Linked DNA regions of Homo sapiens: region 2 is linked to region 1. Evidence: promoter capture Hi-C in human tissues and cell types (Jung and others, 2019). All regions are on one chromosome and are shown on one strand. The core of a region is centred on a gene start or on the middle of the fragment in contact, and the rest is flanking DNA. Distances in the headings are between cores, read along the strand shown. Region 1 holds the start of SRCAP (Snf2 related CREBBP activator protein). Region 2 overlaps LOC124903678 (a long non-coding RNA gene).

Region 1 (7,151 bases), core at 3,284-5,783:
AGGATGGTCTCGATCTCCTGACCTCATGATCCGCCCACCTCAGCCTCCCAAAGTGCTGGGATTACAGGCGTGAGCCACCACGCCCGGCCTTGGGATAAAGTTTTAATAAGGGACTCAAGATGGCAGAGCCAAGTTTATAGATGCTTGACATGCAAGAATTATGTCCTGACATTTACACAGTTCCCAAACTTAAAAATATATATATATATAGGCCGGGGGTGGTGGCTCATGCTTGTGATCCCAGCACTTTGGGAGGCTAAGGTGGGTGGATCACCTGAGGTCAGGAGTTTGAGACCAACCTGGCCAACATGGTGAAACCCCGTCTCTACTGAAAATACAAAAATTAGCTGGGCGTGGTGGCGGGAGCCTGTAATCCCAGCTACTCAGGAGGTTGAGGCACGAGAATCGCTTGAACCTGGGAGGCGTGGGAGGCGGAGGTTGCAGTGAGCCGAGATCGCGCCACTGCATTCCAGCTTGGATGACAGGGTGACTCTGTCTCGGAAAGGAAAAGGAAAAAAAAAATTTATATACATACATATATATATATATATATAGCATATGATTTCAAATTCTGATCGTTTCAGAGCCTCAGTGATTTCATGCACATAAACAACTCCCTATTTACCCTCCATTTTCAGAACAAGTGTGGCAAACTCACTTATGCAATAAATGTGAGCTACCACTAAATTCAACAGCCACCAATAAATCCCAGGCCACCTTAACCTCTTCACTGGACAGGCATGGGCTGCAGGCATAGCCAATGTTCTCAAACACCCAACACGTCACTTTACAAGGTACTGCAAAAGCATTAAGAAATGGAAGCTGGGCTCGGTGGACTTTGGGAGGCCGAGGCGGGCGGATCACATGGTCAGGAGTTCCAGACCAGCCTGACCAACATGGTGAAACCCCATCTCTACTAAAAATACAGAAATTAGCCACGTGTGGTGGCGTGAGCCTGTAATCCCAGCTACTCAGGAGTCTGAGGCAGAGAATTGCTTGAACCAGGAGGCAGAGGTTGTAGTAAGCCAAGATTGTGCCATTGCACTCAGAAGGAAGGAGGGAGAGAAGGAAGGAAGGAAGGAAGGAGGGAGGGAGGGAGGGAGGGAAGGCAGGGAAGGGAGGGAGGGAGGGAGGGAAGGGAGGGAGGGAGGGAAGGAGGGTGGAAAACAGGGCTGGGCACGGTGGCTCACACCTGTAATCCTAGCACTTTTGGAGGCTGAGGCGGGTGGATTACCAGAGGTCAGGAGTTTGAGACCAGCCTAACCTACATGGTGAAACCCCATCTCTACTAAAAACACAGAAAATTAGCTGGGCGTGGTGGCGGACGCCTGTAATCCTAGCTACTCAAGAGGCTGAGGCAGGAGAATCACTTGAACCCAGGAGGTGGAGGTTGCAGTGAGCCAACACCACACCACTGCACTCCAGCCTGGGCAACAAAAGCGAAACTCTGGGCCAGGCGCGGTGGTTCACACCTGTCATTCCAGCACTTTTGAGAGGCTGAGTAAGGCGGGGATCACGAGGTCAAAGATGAAGACCATCCTGGCAAACATGGTGAAACCCCATCTCTACTAAAAACACAAAAATTAGCCAGGCGTGGTGGCGCGCACCTGTAGTCCCAGCTACTCAGGAGGCTGAGGCAGAAGAATTGTTTGAACCCGGGAGGCGGAGGTTGCAGTGAGCCAAGATCACACCACTGCATTTCAGCCTGGTGACAGAGCGAGACTCCATCTTAAAAATAAAAAAAAAAAAAAGAAAGAAAGAAATGGAAAATAGGCCAGGCCTGGGGGCTCACACCTGTAATCCTAATACTTTGGGAGGCCAAGGTGGGTGGATCACCTGAGGTCAGGAGTTCAAGACCAGCCTGGCCAACATGATGGTGAAACCCCATCTCTACAAAAATATAAAAACTAGCCAGGCATGATGGTGGGTGCCTATAATCCCAGCTACTCGCAAGGCTGAGGCAGGAGAACTGTTTGAAATCAGGAGGCGGAGGTTGCAGTGAGCCGAGATCGCGCCATTGCATTCCAGCCTGGCTGAAAGACACTCCATTTCAAAAAAAAAAAAAAAGAAAAGAAAAAAATGGAAAACAAAGTCCTACTGAAAGGTGGATACTCAGGGAATTCACAAATTCACTCCAGGACATAAGCCTTACACTGCGCCACTCAAATTCCTACCTCGGCTAAATGACAAGACTGTATGTCACAAATTTCCCCAGTTTCTCAGGAAAACTATAAATACCAACTTTACAAACATGAAAAGCTTACTGTACTGCTCACTTTGGCAACACATATACTAAAACTGGGAGGATACAGAAAAGATTAGCATGGCCCCTGTGCAAGGATGACACAATAAAGAAACCCTTTTTATAGAAAAATTTAAAAAATTAAAATAGAAAGCTGACTGTACACACACCTAGATGTGTTTAAAAGTCATGCTTTTTTTCCTACCCCACACCCTTCCTTGGTATGAGAAAGGAATGAACACTACACACCATCCATAGGCTTATCCTACTCCAGTACTGATAGAAGTTAAACTATTCTTAAAGCGTATGGTATTAGAAGCATGGTGCCACGACCTCCATTTCCAGCCTAGCCTAATTCAACCTTTTTCAGGTAACGAGGCGCTTTTACACTCTTGGAGATAATATTACACTAATGTTAAATGGAATGTGAGTATCCAACAGACCTGATATACTACAGCCCAGCCCCCGAGCACCAAAGATTCTCCAAAACTCTCCACAAATATTCCCCTGCCACATTTCTTCTGCCTCACACTCAACAATCCACAAAGCAGAAGCAGAGAAGGAACTCTTCCCACTTTCAAACCTGTGTCTGTAGGACTGGGAGCTGAGGGTGAGCAGGGGAGGGGCTGCTCTGCATGGTCCCACTCCCAGGCTCCCCCTTGGATGCCTGAAGAATGACTGGGTTGTTATCACCAGTACTGCTGGCCGAGGGGCTGGCGTCCGGCTGCAGGGCATGCTGGGAGCTGGCCTCATTCTGGGCCACCGGCCACCGGGACCCGCCTTCCAGGGCCCGGGGCCCACCAGGGCGTCCCAGCCTCCGCTCAGGTCCACCAGCCTCTGGAGCACCTAAAGTAGGGTTAAAAAAAAAAAAAAAGACAGAAATGCAGTTAAAGGGGATGAAAAAGTATTTTTAAAAAACCAGAAATAACACTGAATAAAGAGAAACACAGAAATTACAGGTTACATTTCTTGAGCACTTACTATGTATAAGATACTTTTAGTACCTGTTTGATGTGTTCTATAATCCTCACACCTACCTTAAAAACCAAGTGCTTTTCACAGCATAACAAATATTGACTTCCTCCTACACACAACGGATATAGCCATGCAGAAAGGATTCCCGACCTAAATGTAGCTTACATTCTAATATAATCTGTTTTGTAAGTTACGAAGTTAAGACCTTATGATTTGCGGAAGGTTACACAGTAAAAAAGTGATAGGAGGGCTTCAATCCACAGTCTGATGCCAAAACCAAGGAAAACCTGCTACTCTTCCTGGTAGAGCCAGGTTGACCACGTTTTCCTCAACCCACAGCCTCAGTTCTGTTGTTGTACTATAATCAAACCCTCTACAGAAAAATCACATGCAAACATTCCCATGCTTCTCTAGAGTGAAAATCCCCAATACGGACCTATAATTGCTTTATCTCAAACATTTCTCCCATTAGCATCAGCACACAAAATGGTAGCAGATCCCTCACCTGTGTGAGCTGAGACCACACCCCCTGTGAAAGTCTGCACTTCCACGGTGCCGCCGTACTGAAGGGAATCACACCTGAAACATCCATCAAAGCGTATTATTTACTCCAGTTTTTTGAGACGTTTAAATATACCCAAATCAGTTAAAAGACTAGAAACAGAAAAACTACAGTAGTAGGAAAATCTCACATTTCAGGGAAATGCAAATCATGTTTTGTGAATTCCGGAGGGACATACGATCCTGCCTGGGGGCAGGAGCAGGAAAGGAGTGAAGAAAGAAAGTTCAAAAATTTTAAGTGTAAAGGCTCCAACCACAGAATGGAAGACAAAAAAAAAATACAGCAAAAAAAAGCTGTCACATCCAGAACCTCAGAAAGGTGCTACCTGCCTGCGGGCCTTTCCAGTGAGGGCTGAACGCAGAAGTGAGAGTGGAACTCCCGGGAAGAGTCAACAAACAGGCTGGTCACAGGAAAATCCGCCCAGGATTCAGGGCAGGGCGCTGTATATCCCATACCTGCGCCTTGAGACACTTCCCCAAATACAAGAACCACAGCAAAAGGAGACTCAGGAGCAGTCAAAAGCGAGAGGCCGCACTGCCAAGAACCACGCGCCGGAAACAGGCAGTGTGAACCCGCAGGAGGCCCGGAAATGCTTCCCCAGTGTTTAAGGAAATTCCTAAACCACAGTGCCGGCTTTGATTCACTCCCTACTCCGCCACACGTTCCCAAGACCCGAGCTCACCAGAAGCCAACAAGCCTTAACTCTTGACTTCAGGTTTCGTGACCATCTCCCTAGCCCTCCCGACGGACTGACCTCGCGTGACCCCTGACCTCTGCCCAAGTTGCCACTAGCCCTGAGATAGCCCCGCCCCCTCCAGACTCCCACCCCACCCAACGTGCGCGCCGGGCGGGGGAGGGGCCCGCGCGTGCGCGGCTGGAGGCGGAGCGAGCCGGCTGCGCGCACGGCCCAGGGGCTCCCGCCAGAACCCGAGCCCACGCACACAAGGGTCGCGGGGCTGGGAAGCTCGTCATCCAAGCCCGTCAGGGAGCCCCCCCATCACCCGACCGCGAAAGGCTGAGAGAAGGGAGGGTTCGTGCCACCAGGTCCTGGTCCCCCGGCTAGATGTGGTGGGCGCGCGCCCCGACTACTCGTCCCACGCCCCCCTTCCTCTTCCCGCGCGCCCCTGAGGGGTGACTGGGTTGGTGGGCGGGCAGGAGCGCACCTGGGTCCGTCCTCTCAGGGCTCGCTCGCTCGCTCGCTCGCTCAGGCACGCGTGCGCAGAAGGGCGGGAAGGGAGAGGAGACACGCCGGGGCCCAGCGCCGGCCGGCCTGACCCCCTCAGTCTGTCTCTATGGGCGCGCGCCGACAGCCTCGCGCACCGGCCCCGGGGCCCCGGCTGAGGGTGCGCGCGCAGCACCCCGGGAAGGTGGGGGGGAGGCGGTGGCGGAAAGATGCGCGCGCAGTCAGCCGTCATGGGAGGGGGAACTGTGGGGCGTTCGCCATCTTGTCTCCCTCTCCTTACCTGCGTCCTCGGGGGCGTGCGCACCACCCCCCCTCCCGCCTAGGAGGGGGGAGGGCCCCCTCTTGGCCACCGCCTTCGCGGCCTTTAAACTCCCCTGGAGACTGCGGCTACTGCCACCGCCTTGCCTCCACTGCCTCTTCGCGCAGCACACAGATGCGGACGGTGGGTGGGAAAAAGGGCAGACGCTACTCCCAGCGAACCGCCGCTGCCGCTCCCGAGGCCTCACCAAAATGGCCGCCGCCGTCTCGGCCGCCACCACCACCACTACCACCACCACTCGCTCGGAATCGCTATCGCCGGCGCGGCCCGTCTTCTCGCGAGAGACAGTAACTGGAGGGTGGGGGAACGGGGAGGCTCGCGTGCTAGCGTAGGGTGCAGCACGGTGCGCAAGGCAGCCTGGGAGGTGTAGTCTCCCAGAGGCTGCGCGCTCGCCCTTCCTCGGAGCGCCTTTACCGTTTGCCCCTAGATCTACCTGGGGCTGCATTGCGGCTGCCAGCTCGGACCACCGCCACCTCCCTTTTTATTTACAGATCACCCAGTAAGCTGCAGCAAGTTAGCAGTGGAACCTGGGCCTCCCGATTCCCATGGCAGCCCACTTCTGTAGCGCTGCTTCGTTTTACGCGAGGATGGTTTCCTGATAGCTTTCAAACACCTTTGCCATCTCTTCGCAAACTTTCTAGATTAAGAATCCCTTTGAGAATCTGATACCTTTACCCCAGAATAGAACAATAAATAACAGCTACCTTCTACTGACACTACTTGGTGCCTTGATTATTTCTTTTAATCCTAACTGCTCCATTTTACAAACGAATTGAGGCTCAGGCGTTAAAACACAGTGACAGATCCTGAAGTCAAGATTCCTAGCCAAGCAGTCTAAGCCACAAGAATGCACTCGCTGTCATAAAATTTTACCACCTAAAGCCCCCGCTAAGAGGCCAGGTTAGGAAGCCCTGATGAAGCTCCCCTTCCTCCATTCAGTTTAGCTCTTCCCTGCGAAGAGGATTGTTGGTCCCATTTTACAGATGAAGTTTGGGTTGAAAGAAAAGTGGATGATGCCCATCTTTTCTAGACCCTCCTCCCATCACCCCCAGAAGAGGGGATCCCAGGCCAGAGCCTGAATTGGACCTAGCCTTGTGCCATTAACTCCTTGCTATGTGACCTTGAGCAATTAACTTCACCTTTCTGAGCTTCAGTTTCCTCTGTAAAGTGAGGATAGAATTGCTGATGTAAAATTGCTTTGAAAGATCTAAAGGGCCAGGTGCGGTGGCTCACACCTGTAACCCCAGCACTTTGGGAGGCCAAGGCAGGAGGATCACTTGAGGCCAGGAGCTCAAGACCAGCCTGGGTAACATAGTGAGACGTCGTCTCTACAGTAAATTAAAAATTTTAAAATTATGAAAAAATAAAAAAGCTCTAAAGGACTACCTAAATGTGGAGTATATTTCACTATAGTTCAGTGTTTCACACCCATGATCTTAAGGTCAAGGTTAGCTTTCTGATGTGCTTTACATAGTATTTATTTATGTATTCATTTGTTGAGATAGTCTTGCTCTGTCACCCAGGCCGGAGTGCAATGGCACAATCTTGGCTCCCTGCAGCCTCTGTCTCCCGGGCTCAAGCAATTCTCATGGCTCACCCTCCCAAGTAGCTGGGATTACAGGTGTGCACCACCACACTCAGCTAATTTTTGTATTTTTGGTAGAGACAGGGTTTCACCATGTTGCCCAGGCTGCTCTCAAACTCCTGACCTCAGGTGATCCACCTACCTTAGCCTCCCAAAGTGCTGTGACTACAGGTGTGAGCCACCGCCCCCAGCTGCTTTATATAGTTTGTTTTTTGTTTTTCGTTTTTTGTTTTTAGAGACAGAGTCTCGCTCTTTACCCCAAGCTGGAGTGCAGTGTCACGATCT
Region 2 (4,366 bases), core at 1,831-4,330, 86 kb after region 1:
GAATAAGCAAACTCAAGCATTTCAGCCCTCTTTAAAATATTGGGCAGAATTCCAGCAACTTTTAGAGAGCCTTAACCCTTGGACCTACTTCAAACAGCACCTCAGTGTCTTTTGTGTAATTATTGGAAAAATGTTATTATGTTTCTGCTTTTTGTTCACAGTCTGTAAAATCAGCTGGACCACCAGCTGGCAATTGAGAGCTGCACAGCCTGCAATTACCTTTATTCAACTAATGCAAAAACAGAAAGGGGGAGATGTTGGAGGCCAAAAGAATGAGGGTCGTGACCAACTCAGTATACCACTGGAGGCTATATGAGCAAACAGCAAACTGTTCTCATGAATGCAGGATGTTGGCAAGCTGACAACTGCGTCTGCCACCAGAAGGAATGCTGAGGACAGTCACACACCAGGTGCAGTTGTTCCTTGTAGTTATCTATAGGAACATCTGGAGCCTGTTGTATAAAGAAAGCAATTATGTGAGCCTGTGCTAAATCAAGCAGCTGACCAACTACTACCTCTTAGTCCCTGTTGATTCTACCTAATAAATATGAAGGGCTGTAGAAGCTCAGGGCCCTTATTCCCTAGAAGCAAGGAGCCCCCGACACTTTCTTTAAAACAGATCCTTTTCTTTGTCTCCATTTCTGCGTTCGTCCTCCTTTGTTCAGTCCCGAACCGACAGCCACATTTGTGGGTCATGCAGTGTCTAATTCTCCCAGAGAGCTCACCTGGTCCAGCACCAGCTGCCCCCACACAGGGGACGAGCTCTGCAAGGGCTCCGACTGCAGCCACCTCTTCCACCTGAGGAGGGCGCTGTCCACGCACATATGCGGATGTGTGCACAGATGTGGGTGCCAGTTTGCATTCCCCTCCCTTGTGGCCACCACCAGGCACATGCACTTGGGTGAGCACTGCCACCACTGCCTACAGTGTGGCACTCCCCTTGCTGACTGGGAAACTTGCTCCAGCACCAGCTTATCCATGCAGGAGAGAAGCCCTACTGGTGCTTTGACTGTGTGTGGTGCGTGCACCAAAGAGGCTCCCTTGGCCATTCATAGGCACACGCATACAGGTGAGAAGCCTCAGTCCTGCTCTGAGTGTGGCATCTGCTTCTCCTGCTAAAAAAAAGAAAAAAAGAAATAAAAGCTTGGCTTTTCCCTTTTTAGATGGAGTCTCACTTTGTCCCCTAGGCTGGAGTGCAGTGATGTGATCTCAGCTCACTGCAACCTCTGCCTCCCATGTCCAAGCGATTCTCCTGCCTCAGCCTCCCAAGTAGCTGGGATTACAGGCATGTGCCACCACACCCGCCTAATTTTTTTGTATTTAGTAGAGAGGGAGTTTCACCATGTTGGTCAGGCTGGTCTTGAACTCCTGACCTCAGGTGATTTGCCCTCCTCAGCCTCCCAAAGTGCTGGGATTATAGGCACGAACCATCGTGCCTGGCCTGACTTTTCTTTTCTTTTTTGAGATGGAGTTTCACTCTTGTTGCCCAGGCTGGAGTGCAATGGTGCAATCTGGGCTCACTGCAACCTCAGCCTCCCCGGTTCAAGCGATTCTCCTGCCTCAGCCTCCTAAGTAGCTGGGATTACAGGCATGCACCACCACTCTCGGCTAATTTTTTGTATTTAGTAGAGACAGGGTTTCACCATGTGGGTCAGGCTGGTCTTGAACTCCTGACCTCAGGCAATCCACCCGCCTCAGCCTCCTGAAGTGCTGGGATGGATTACAGGTGTGAGCCACCACGCCCAGCTGACCTGACTTTTCTTAACAGATTCATGCAGCCCAGGTTTTTTGTTTGTTTGTTTGTTTTTGTTCTATTCATTTAAACACAGAGTCTCAATCTGTTGACCACGCTGGAGCGCAGTGGTGTAATAATCATAGTTAACTGCAGCCTTGAACTCTTGGGCTCAAGTCATCCTCTCGCCTTAGCCTCCCAAAGGGCTGGGACTACAGGCATGAGCCACCATGCCCACACGCCCAGCCACAATTAGGAGGCTAGAGCTCCCGCCTTTTTTTTTTGTTGTTGTTGTTGTTTTTGTTTTTTGAGACAGGATCTCATTCTTTCGCCCAGGCTGGAGTGCAGTGGTGCAATCTTGGCTACTGTAGCCTTGACCTCCCAAGTCTCAATCGATCCCCCCACCTCAGCTTCCCAAGTAGCTGGGACTATAAGTGCCCGACACCATGCCTAGTTAATTTTTGTATTTTTTGTAGAGAAAGGGTTTTGCCATGGTGGCCAGGCTGGTCTTGAACTCCTGGGCTCAAGCAATCCCCCCACCTCGGCCTCCCAAAGTGCTGGGATTATAGGTGTGAGCCACCACACCTAGCCTGTAACTGTAGTTTTTTTTCCACCACCTCTGTTCAAACATCTCCTTCCTCTGAATATCTCACTGCTGCCTCCTCATCCTCCTCCTCCTTCTTCTTTCTTCTCCTTCCTCTTTTTTTTTTTTTTTTTTGAGACGAGTCTCGCTCGGTCGAAAGCTCCGCCTCCCGGGTTCACGCCATTCTCCTGCCTCAGCCTCCTGAGTAGCTGGGACTACAGAAGCCCACCACCATGCCTGGCTAATTTTTTATATTTTTAGTAGAGACGGGGTTTCACCGTGTTAGCCAGGATGGTCTTGATCTCCTGACCTAGTGATCTGCCCGCCTCGGCCTCCCAAAGTGCTGGGATTACAGGCGTGAGCCACCAAGCCCAGCCTTTTTTTTTTTTTTTTTTTTTGAGACTTAGTCTTACTCTGTCACCCAGGCTGGAGTGCAGTGGCACCATCTTGGATCACTGCAACCTCCGCCTTCCAGTTTCAAACAATTCTCTTCGGCTGGGCCTGGTGGCTCATGTCTGTAATCCCAGCACTTTGGGAGGTCGAGGCGGACAGATCAGCTGAGGTCAGGAGTTCAAGACCAGCCTGACCAACATGAAGAAACCCCATCTCTACTAAAAATACAAAATTAGCTGGGTGTAGTGGCGCATGCCTGTAATCCCAGCTACTCGGGAGGCTGAGGCAGGAGAATCGTTTGAATCCGGGAGGCGGAGGTTGTGGTGAGCCGAGATTGCTCCATTGCACTCAGCCTGGGGAACAAGAGCAAAACTCCGTCTCAAAACAAAACAAAACAAAACAAAACAGAAAACAATTCTCATGCCTCAGCCTCCCAAGTAGCAGGGACTATAGGCATGTGCCACCAAGCCCGGCTAATTTTTGTATTTTTAGTAGAGACAGGGTTTTGCCATGTTGGCCAGGCTGGTCTTGAACTCCTGGCCTCACGTGATCCACCCACCTCGGCCTCCCAAACTGCTGGGATTACAGGTGTGAGCCACTGCTCCCGGCCTCATTGCCTTCTAATTTTGTGACTTTTCCTGCCACATTGTTTGTCTTTATTCCTTGAAAGCTTTGAGGTTAGTGTTTTGCCCATAGTATATGCTTTACAATATTGATTAAAGGGTTAGAGAGATAGATGTGCATGTCACTAGCTAAGAGACATGGCAAATGGTGTATTCTCCTGCTCGCAGGACCCTTGGGGGTGGCATTGAGCTGGTGAAACTCTGCAGTATAACACATACATAGAAGTAGGGGCTAGGGCGGGCGTGGTGGCTCATGCCTGTAATCCCAGCACTTTGGGAGGCAGAGGTGGTTGGATCATGAGGTCAGGAGTTCGAGACCAGCCTGGCCAAGATGGTGAAATCCCGTCTCTACTAAAAATACAAAAATTAGCCGAGCAAAGTGGCGGGTGCCTGTAATCTCAGCTACTCGGGAGGCTGAGGCAGGAGAATCACTTGAACCCGGGAGGCCAAGGTTGCAGTGAGCCGAGTTTGCACCACTGCACTCTAGCCTGGGCAACAGAGCAAGACTCCGTCTAAAAAAAAAAAAAAAAAGGGCTGGGCACAGTGGCTCACGCCTGTAATCCCAGCACTTTGGGAGGCTGAGACGGGTGGATCACGAGGTCAGGAGATCAAGACCATCCTGGCTAACATGGTGAAACCCCGTCTCTACTAAAAATACAAAAAATTAGCTGGGCGTGGTGGCGGGCGCCTGTAGTCCCAGCTACCCGGGAGGCTGAGGCAGGAGAATGGCGTGAGCCCGGGAGGCGGAGCTTGCAGTGAGCCGAGATGGCGCCACTGCCCTCCAGCCTGGGTGACAGAGCGAGACTCCGTCTCAAAAAAAAAAAAAAAAAAAAAATGTGGAGGCTAATGGGGTGGGTGCTGGCTTGTTCCATCAGCAATTTTCAGTTCAGTGCCTTTCACATACATGCTTGTATCATTCTGTTATGATTCATTGTGAATTTATATGCTTTACTAGACTGTAAGCTCCATTCAAAGCATGGCCTATGACTTATTTATGTACGCTCTCCCAATTGCCTAGCACTATGCTTTGTACGT

What was found. Contacts are between HindIII fragments. The study calls those that stand out against the background at their distance.
Region 2: a fragment that was not itself captured here is called in contact with the fragment with the promoter of SRCAP in region 1 in 2 of the 25 tissues and cell types used here (heart right ventricle and small bowel).

The regions. Positions count from the first base shown.
Region 1 is chr16:30,696,553-30,703,703 of GRCh38, reverse strand. It overlaps SRCAP (Snf2 related CREBBP activator protein), which reads right to left and starts at 4,533. Exons shown (of 34, transcript NM_006662.3): 1 at 4,462-4,533; 2 at 3,723-3,796; 3 at 2,826-3,088. The coding sequence starts at 2,879. LOC730183 (a long non-coding RNA gene) reads left to right here and starts at 4,644. Exons shown (of 2, transcript NR_144637.2): 1 at 4,644-4,823; 2 at 5,773-5,997. It also overlaps the pseudogene RNU6-1043P. RefSeq lists silencers at 4,513-4,742, 4,883-5,292 and enhancers at 4,462-4,756, 5,413-5,602, 5,633-5,722. The HindIII fragment of the contact is 12,049 bases long and covers 1-7,151 here.
Region 2 is chr16:30,612,001-30,616,366 of GRCh38, reverse strand. It overlaps LOC124903678 (a long non-coding RNA gene), which reads right to left. Exons shown (of 2, transcript XR_007065051.1): 2 at 194-1,115. Among named protein-coding and RNA genes, the nearest start is that of ZNF689, 3.8 kb to the right of the region's middle. RefSeq lists a silencer at 508-748. The HindIII fragment of the contact is 7,596 bases long and covers 1-4,366 here.